Linked DNA regions of Homo sapiens: region 1 is linked to region 2. The links are contacts of gene promoters, found by promoter capture Hi-C in human tissues and cell types (Jung and others, 2019). All regions are on one chromosome and are shown on one strand. The core of a region is centred on a gene start or on the middle of the fragment in contact, and the rest is flanking DNA. Distances in the headings are between cores, read along the strand shown.

Region 1 (4,119 bases), core at 141-2,640, 200 kb before region 2:
CCTAAATTTTGTGGGTTTTTTTGTTGTTGTTGTTTATTTTTAATTGACAAATAAAATTTATACATATTTATCATGTATAACATGTTTTGTGGAATGGCTAAATTGAGCTAACTAATACATGTATTATCTTGCATAGTTATCCTGTTTTTGTGGTGAGAATACTCAAAGTCTACTCTCTAAGCAATTTTCCAGAATACATTGTTATTAACTACATCATTATGTTGTATAATACAGCAGTTCCAAATATAATTGGTACCAGAGACTGGCTTCATGGAAGACAATTTTTTCCATGGGATGGGCCGGGGGCATGGATTCAGGATGAAACCGTTCCACTTCAGCTCATCAGGCATTAGATTCTCATAAGATGCACTCAACCTGGATCCCTTGCATGTGCAGTTCACAATAGGGGTTGTACTCCTATGAGAATCTAATGCTGCCACTGATCTGAGAGGAGGCGGAGCTCAGGTGGTAATGCTCACTGGCCTGCACTCACCTCCTGCTGTGTGGCTCAGTTCTTAACATGCCATGGACCAATACTAGTCCACGGCCTGGGGGTTTGGGGACTCCTGGAACAATAGATCTCCTGTAAATCTTGAATCAAGCTTATTTTTTTTTTCATGGATTTACCTTGAACTCCCTCTTAGATCTTGGTAGAGGATATTTCATTCAGTAACTCTGAGAACTTTACCTAGAAATTCATTAAATCTTAAAATATCTCTCTATGGTTCCAAGTTAACTACAGTTTAAATTAAGCCCCACAAAATCTTGAATTGAAGAAGAAACTCAAAATGTACATTGACTCAGAGACAATGAAATCCCAATGCCAGTTCATGTTCTAACAAACATCCAAACCCAAATTGCTGATTAACATGTAATCACTGCAACCAGACTCCTTTCCATCTGGAAAGAACAAGAGGCTAATTTTATTATTTTTACTCACATGTCTATCAGCCTCAGACCAGCTAACCAACCTCAGTACCGAGGCCATGTCATCCACCACACATTATTCACTCATTCATTTATTTATTCATTTCATACACTGTATTCAAATTCTACTTTGTGGCTGATATTTTGTACAGCTCTGTGGGAAAGTACAAAAGGAGAACAGATAACTTCTGCTGCAGAAGAATTTGCAATCAAGGTTAAAAGAAAAAAAAACATGTTTGTAAGAAAACACTAGAGAGAAAATTATATTAAGAAAAGCAGGACACTGTAGTAGGGACACAGCTCTCTGAAGAGGTGTTAGGATAGCAAGGCTGGCCCTGTGAAAGGGCTACTGGAGATAGGAAGATAAGGAAGATTCACATGGTATCCTGAACTGTATCCAGTCTGGAGCAAGGAGGAATGGAAGGAGATAGACAAAACCTACCAAATAATAAGGCAGGATTTATTATGTACTAAATAATAGAGACAAAATGTGGCCAGACTAGAAAAGAAAGAAATAAAGTTTGAACAGGGTACATCAGGAAAGAGTTTATAGATATTAGTGAAAGCGTTTGTGTGGTTATGTGTGTGTATTGTCTTACTGTAACAGTAATATATTATGATGTTCAGAGAAGTAAAAATAAATTGCAGTGGGTTGGAGGAGAGAAGAGAATGTTACAATAGGTAGGATTTTAAAAGGATAGAAATAATTTTTTGGAAAGTTGAGGTTGACTTAGTACTGTGAAGAAGGCAGAAAGGCAGCAGAAAGCTATTAAATTTCAGAGCCCCAAGTTGTGTGATGGTAGTTGGAGGTAAGCAGGCAAGACTACTGGGAGACTTCGGAGGAAGATTGGGATACAGGTGTAGAGGTCTGATGCCAAGCTGAGGATGGATGAGGTGCCAAATCCAACAGTTGTTTACATGCTGGAATGGAATGTTTTAGAAAGATCCTCTTTGTGATGGTTCATGCACAGGTGGAATCCAGGGTAGGAAGTTCTGTTAGGTAGCCACAGCTAGAGCCTAAACAAAAAGTGTAACATTTGAATTATAGGCAAGAAAAATTAATCCTGCAGGGAAGGGCAGAAGACAGAAAATTCTAGTAATCATGGAAAAGAGCTGTACTTGATCAGAGAGGCAAAATAGGACTTTAAGGTATGGGGGGAGATATAAAACATGGGGACATCATTGGCTGGCTTTAGACAAGTGGCATGAGGCATAATTACAATCTCTCAATGGTCGTTAAATACTCTGCATTGACAGACAGTGAAGAGCCATATGCCATTTTCTCTTGGAATCTGCATCTTTGTTCTCTTTGTGTTATTTCCTTTCATTCGTCGTCATTGTTTTCTTTTTTTTCTGCTTGTAATAGTTGGTGAGACAAGCTGGCTATAGGAGGTCCAAAAATGTGTACATGCTGTGGACTGTAGCTGCCTCCCCTAGACTGTAATTTTAAGCCTCCAAGTTAGAAATCCCAGGAGATATTTATATCCAGGAGGATTTCAGCTAACTATGTGTTTGCCTCCAGGCAGCAGCCTCAACAGGCGCTGTGTTTACTTTCCAACATTGAATGGAAAACATCATTTTGAAAAAGCTTAATTTCCAAAAACCCATCCCACAACAGCCTAATTTTAGAACCTATGAAAGCTAATAATTTCAAAATTCTTCCCAACAGTTTCTTGTTTATGTTTTGCAGCCCAAGTCTAAATATATCATAAAGGAGATTTTAAATATTACTTTATCCATTTGTTAACTTATTACTGCATTTATTTATTTATTTCCTGAAGCAAAAGCACAGCAACTTATTGTTTTCAGTTTCTGTTTGTCCTCTAGATGTGAGATGTTTTACTCATGATAAGATAAGGACCTAGAGAGAACTTTCATCATCAAACAGATGAAGAAAAATCAGAGTTCACAATTAAACTCTCTGGTACAAAAATAATCAAATCCAATAGCCTGCCACTTTAACAGCACTAGCTCCCTGCACTCTCTTATTAACATTTTCTATTTCTTTAAGGATGATTAAAATAAAAAAGGCACTGCACTGAGTCTAAACCTTCCATGAAGAAAATAATAACTAAACTGGTTCTCAGAAAGAATATAATTGGCCACAATACAGAACTTTAAAGAGATCATTTTAAAAGATCCAAACTTCTCTGCAAAAATTTATCAGAGTCTTCTTAGGAATTAAGCTTCTTGCATAAAAATATTGAAAGGATCCTTCAAATAAGAGCAATTTCAATATTAAAATTTAAGGAAAAGTCACGCTAGCTTGAAGAAAAGGGCGACATGTCCTAGGGGATAGATGGAATTTGGGGTTTTGCCAAACTCATTTTGGAAGGTTTAGGTATGTGATTAAATCAAACATAGCAACTTTTGCCTTGCCTTTCTTGAAGATTGAGAGCCCTGTTTAGAGATCTAGGATGGAGGCCACCTCTTCCTGAGAAACACTGATGTTTTCATATGATTGATACCTTGAGATTTACTGAGAATTTTTATGCTGATAAAACTGTGTCTTGCTCCCAGTTTGGTAATTTTTCTTTGGATCTGTGAGGAAAGACATGTCTGGTGAAGCCTATATCTCTAAAAGTCCTTTTTTGGAAGAAATTAGAAAGTTGCACCGAGCAAAATGCCTAACTTAGGAGCAGCAGCCTACTTAGTCCATCTGTCCGCAGCTTCCCATTTTTGTCTTTTCTCCATGTCTGTGGTCAGGACCAAGTGGTTCTTGAAGTGCCAAGTTGGTCTATTCACTTCCCCTCTAGGAAAGCCTGGTATATGAGACCTTTTACAATCTGGCTCCGACATATACCCACATGGTTCCATTTCCTCCTTCCCCCCACATATCACTGTTCCTCCCGCAAGTAGCCCCGTTCCCTTCCTCTACTTTCTAGCCACACACTTTGTTGCTTGAAAATGCCATGCTTTTTTGTTCTCCTACCCCATCTCAGCGTCTGTCTGATCTTGTGTTTGAAATGACCTTTCACCACTTTTCTTCCATTCTCAGTGTAAAAGCTACCTTCTCATGGAAGATTCCAGACTCCCTCAGGTTGTTGTATTTCCTCCTCTGTGCTCCCAAAGCATTTTGAACAAACTCTCTTACAGCCTTGAGCACTCTGCACTGTGTAATCAGGCTTTGGCTCTTTTCTTATAACAGATATTTTGTTCCTTAAGGGCAGAGATCTATGTTTTCCCACTGCT
Region 2 (3,881 bases), core at 1,140-3,639:
CCAAGTCAATCTTCTGGGCAGAAGGAGGGTCCTCCTCCCCGCAGCCTCTAGCATTTGAGGGTCTCGAGGAGGCAATTTAAAACAGACACCTATTCATTACTGTGGAGATGCCCACCCCCCCACCCCCACCCACCTTTTGCGAGAGTAATTGTTGAGGACAAAGCTCCGGGAGAGAAGAGCCAGGGGAGGAGGGGACCGGCCCGGGAGGGACAGACGGAGGGAGGGAGCACCAGCGGCTAAGCGCGGGGATGCGGGTACGCGCTCATCACAGGACAGCGCGCGTGCACACACACACACACACACACGCACACACACACACCCCTCCTGCCTGCTCTCTCTGTCTCTGGCCAAAGGAAGATGAGGAGCTGAGCCCGAGTGCAAGCGCAGATTCCTGCCCGCGTGCGGCCGAGCGAGGCTTTGGGGAGCCTCGGGCTGCCTTGGCGCTTGACTGTCTGAATCCCTCGCGACAGTGAGAGGCGCATTTTCTGCTCGCGTTCGCAACCCTTGGCCATGCAGCACTTAGCAGAGAAGAGAAAGCCGGAGCTGCGGACTCCGGGGAGGCTGGGGGCTTGGCCGCGATTGATGTGCCATTCCCTGTTAATTTCCCAGGCACGAACTGGGGAGCTCCTACTCAACGCCCGGTCTCTGCCTGAGCCTGTTTTTCCTTTGGATTTGGAAAAAGGTCGTTTCCGAAGGGCTCTCTGAATGCTCATCCAGCCGCTCTCCTCTCCTTCTTTGCCAGGACCGCTCACTGTACCCCAGTGCCCATCTACACTTGCGGTGAGGTCCCGCAAAACAAGTGGACCTTATCATGAGTCATTTTGCTCTTTTCTATTCTTTTGGCCGTCGAAGCCGCCAGCTCCGTATTCGGAGATTACAGCAGTCCTGATCAGCCAGCCTCCAGGTCCCTCTTTCTCCTGCACTAGCCAGATCCAATCCCCAAACAGTTTTGCCATTTTTAATTAGAAACTGAGCTAGGCAAGTGCCAGGGTCAGGGCGCCGGTTCTCTGGAATATCAATCACTTGGAGTTTGGAGGTGTCCTGGAGCTATATGGAGACTCAGCTTGCGAACTACATTCACCGTTAAAAAATAAAACAATATTAAACACACCTCCCCTCCTCCTTGGCAACTCTGTGCCTCCTTCAGTACCAGGATCCCCTCCTTGGAAGTACCAAAACATATTAGCTGTCCCTTTCCCTATTCTCAATCACCAAGTCCAAAAATCCAAACCAAAAGGAGATGTATTCACACACCAACGACTCAGCCCCACCATCTACATTCTGCGCAGACTTCCTCAAAGCCCCTGGATGTCCTCCTCGCCTGCTCCTGTTGCCCCAATCCTCCCCACTTGGTAGGTTTCTGGGGCTTTAAGGACCCAGCCCAGTTCCTTTCAACGATATCCCCAGCACCTGCCCCAGCCCGCCGGCTCTCCAAACCAACCCAAGTATTTGCAGAAGCAAAAATGCGTGAAGCATCAGATTTTAAAACAGCGAAGGGGCGCCCCTTGTACCACCCCCCCACCATCATCCGCCCCCAGGGAAGAAAAAAACTCTTCTATCTTTTATCATCGGTGCGCAAATGGGGGCAGCGCAAGCGCCAAATCTCTTGCTATCCCCCACCCCAATTCTACTACTCGCCAAATGAAATGAGAAGGGAAGTGGGGTACGGAAGGGGGTGCGACGAGAAGAAAGGAAAGAGCCACTTACCGGTTACTTGAAGATGCGCGCTGAACAAGGAAGCTCCGAAGAGTACAAAAGCCAGCTTGGGTACCCAAACACATCTAAGACTATTCTCCATATTTCAGCCAACACCTTCGGGGCCAGGGGTCGCGGGCAGCGGCAGCACTCACACACATGCACTCACACACGCATGCACACATGCACACACACGCGCCGAGCCCCTTCGGCTTCCTCCTCCTCCTCGTCCTCTTCCTCCACCTCTTTCTCCACCTCCCCTGCGCCTCTGCTGCCTTCGAAGCCTTTTTCCTTGTCCACTGACAGAATCAGCAGCAAAAGCAGGCAGCAAAAAGTTCCATTCGGTCCAAGAGATCCCGAGCCCCGGTAAAACCTTAGAAAACTAACTCAAGGAAACGGAGGGAGCCAGAGGAGGGAAGACAGCTCTCTGAGGGGCTCGCAAGTCATCAATAAACCACATCCAGGAGGGACCAAGAGGAGATGGAAGGCAATCCTGTGGCCGGGCTGTGCATTAAAAGGTTGAGGCTGGTTCCTTGTCGTCGGTTGGGTAAAGTTGAAGAGACAATTCCGCGCGAGAGCTGGAGATGCTGTTGGTTTTTCTTCCGAGAGCCGAGGGGACCCAGGGAGGAGAGGCGGGGGGGACTGCGGGGTGGAGCGCTCTCACTTGTTACTGGGGTGTCCGCCAGCGGTGTGCGAGCTGGGAGTTGGAACCGTACTACACATTGATCCGGAGAAGTGGAGGGCTGGAAGGGAAAATGTGGAGACCGGAGGGAAACGAACTGGATCAGGCAAAGATTCCACGGGAAGGGGGTGGGGGCAGACAGACTATGGCTTAGGGAAAAAAGAGCGGACCGAGGAGGCTTCCAGGAGCTGCATTTGCCTGGTCTGCGTATCAATGCGCAGGGATGCCCTCTGTGGGCAAAGCGTGGGAAGTCACTTTTGTCAATGGAGCCTGCGAACATCCTGAGCGTCTGGAGGTTTTGCAGCGACCGTGTTTGACACTCAGCCTTCAGGAAATTATTGGTATTTGACTGTAAAACCTAGGCGGGCGTTTAAGGCGGAGGAGGTGGCCAGGATGTTTACTTCCTTCTCTGCCCTTGGCATTATTTAAAATACAATTTTTCATTTGGAAAGAATCACCTGATCCAACTCCCTTCTAGGACGGGAGGGAAATCGAGATCCTGAAACACACAGCGGACAGGACAAAGGCCAGAGTTATTTCCTGACATAATAGCTAAGGGGCCTCCTTTTGTAGGACGTCTCATGTCGTCTGTGTTCTCTCTTCTCTCGCAATTGTTTTCTTTAACATATTTAAAAGCACTTATCATGTTCCAGGTGTTCTGTTGGCTCCCAGGAAATAGTTGGGACATCCAGTGAGACTCAGTCTCTATCCTCAAGGGGTTTGTGATCCGTCAGGAGAGAAGCTAAATGGATAATTATAAAGTATCGTGATAAATATGATGGTTCACGTAATGGAGGGGGTGCTCTGGGAAAACAAGAGAGACATTTCTCCAGTCCCTGGCAGATAAAGTGAAGCAACCATACACACGCGTGTGTGTGCACACACACACAAGCACACACACAGCAGGAAACTTAGGAAGGGTGAACAGTAAAGCCCTTTCAGGAAACTGTTTTAAGCTGAGTTCCTTTGCATAACTTGTCTCTGCTGCGGGAACTCAAGCTCCTTTGAGAAGAGAGAGGTTGTATGCCATCCATTTTTGCACTCCTCACAGATGCTAGCATAGAACTTGGAATTCTGCACATGCCAATACGTTTCTGCAGAATAAGTGAACTTACAAACCAATTAATTTGGCCGGGAAGGATAATGAATAGAAATGTCATTCTGGTAAAATTCTGTCGTTTAAGGAGATGTTCAGCTGTGGATTCAGACCATTCCTTACTAGATTCTTCCCCACCTGTTCTTGTCACCCTCCCATGCTCACCAGGCTGTGAGCAGAGAGAATGTGAACATCTATTTAAGAAGAAAGGCGTGAGGGAAAGCATGAAAAATCCAGGATAAAATCATCATCAGGGAAACTCCTATGATGCTGGAACTGGACAACAGTGTTTTAGATCCCTAGTCATGCCCATTCCTTCCTGTCCTGGAAAAGTTAAAATATGAAGTGCCTGTGTTCACTAAAGCAAAACCTTCTGAAATAGCTTACATGGATGGATTCTTTAGAATT

Evidence for each region. Contacts are between HindIII fragments. The study calls those that stand out against the background at their distance.
Region 1: a contact is called between a fragment that was not itself captured here and the fragment with the promoter of DCC in region 2, in 1 of the 25 tissues and cell types used here (stomach).

The regions. Positions count from the first base shown.
Region 1 is chr18:52,535,807-52,539,925 of GRCh38, reverse strand. All of the region lies in intron 1 of DCC (DCC netrin 1 receptor), which reads right to left. Among named protein-coding and RNA genes, the nearest start is that of DCC, 200 kb to the right of the region's middle. The HindIII fragment of the contact is 6,333 bases long and covers 1-4,119 here.
Region 2 is chr18:52,338,705-52,342,585 of GRCh38, reverse strand. DCC (DCC netrin 1 receptor) reads right to left here and starts at 2,389. Exons shown (of 29, transcript NM_005215.4): 1 at 1,708-2,389. The coding sequence starts at 1,798. The HindIII fragment of the contact is 11,241 bases long and covers 1-3,881 here.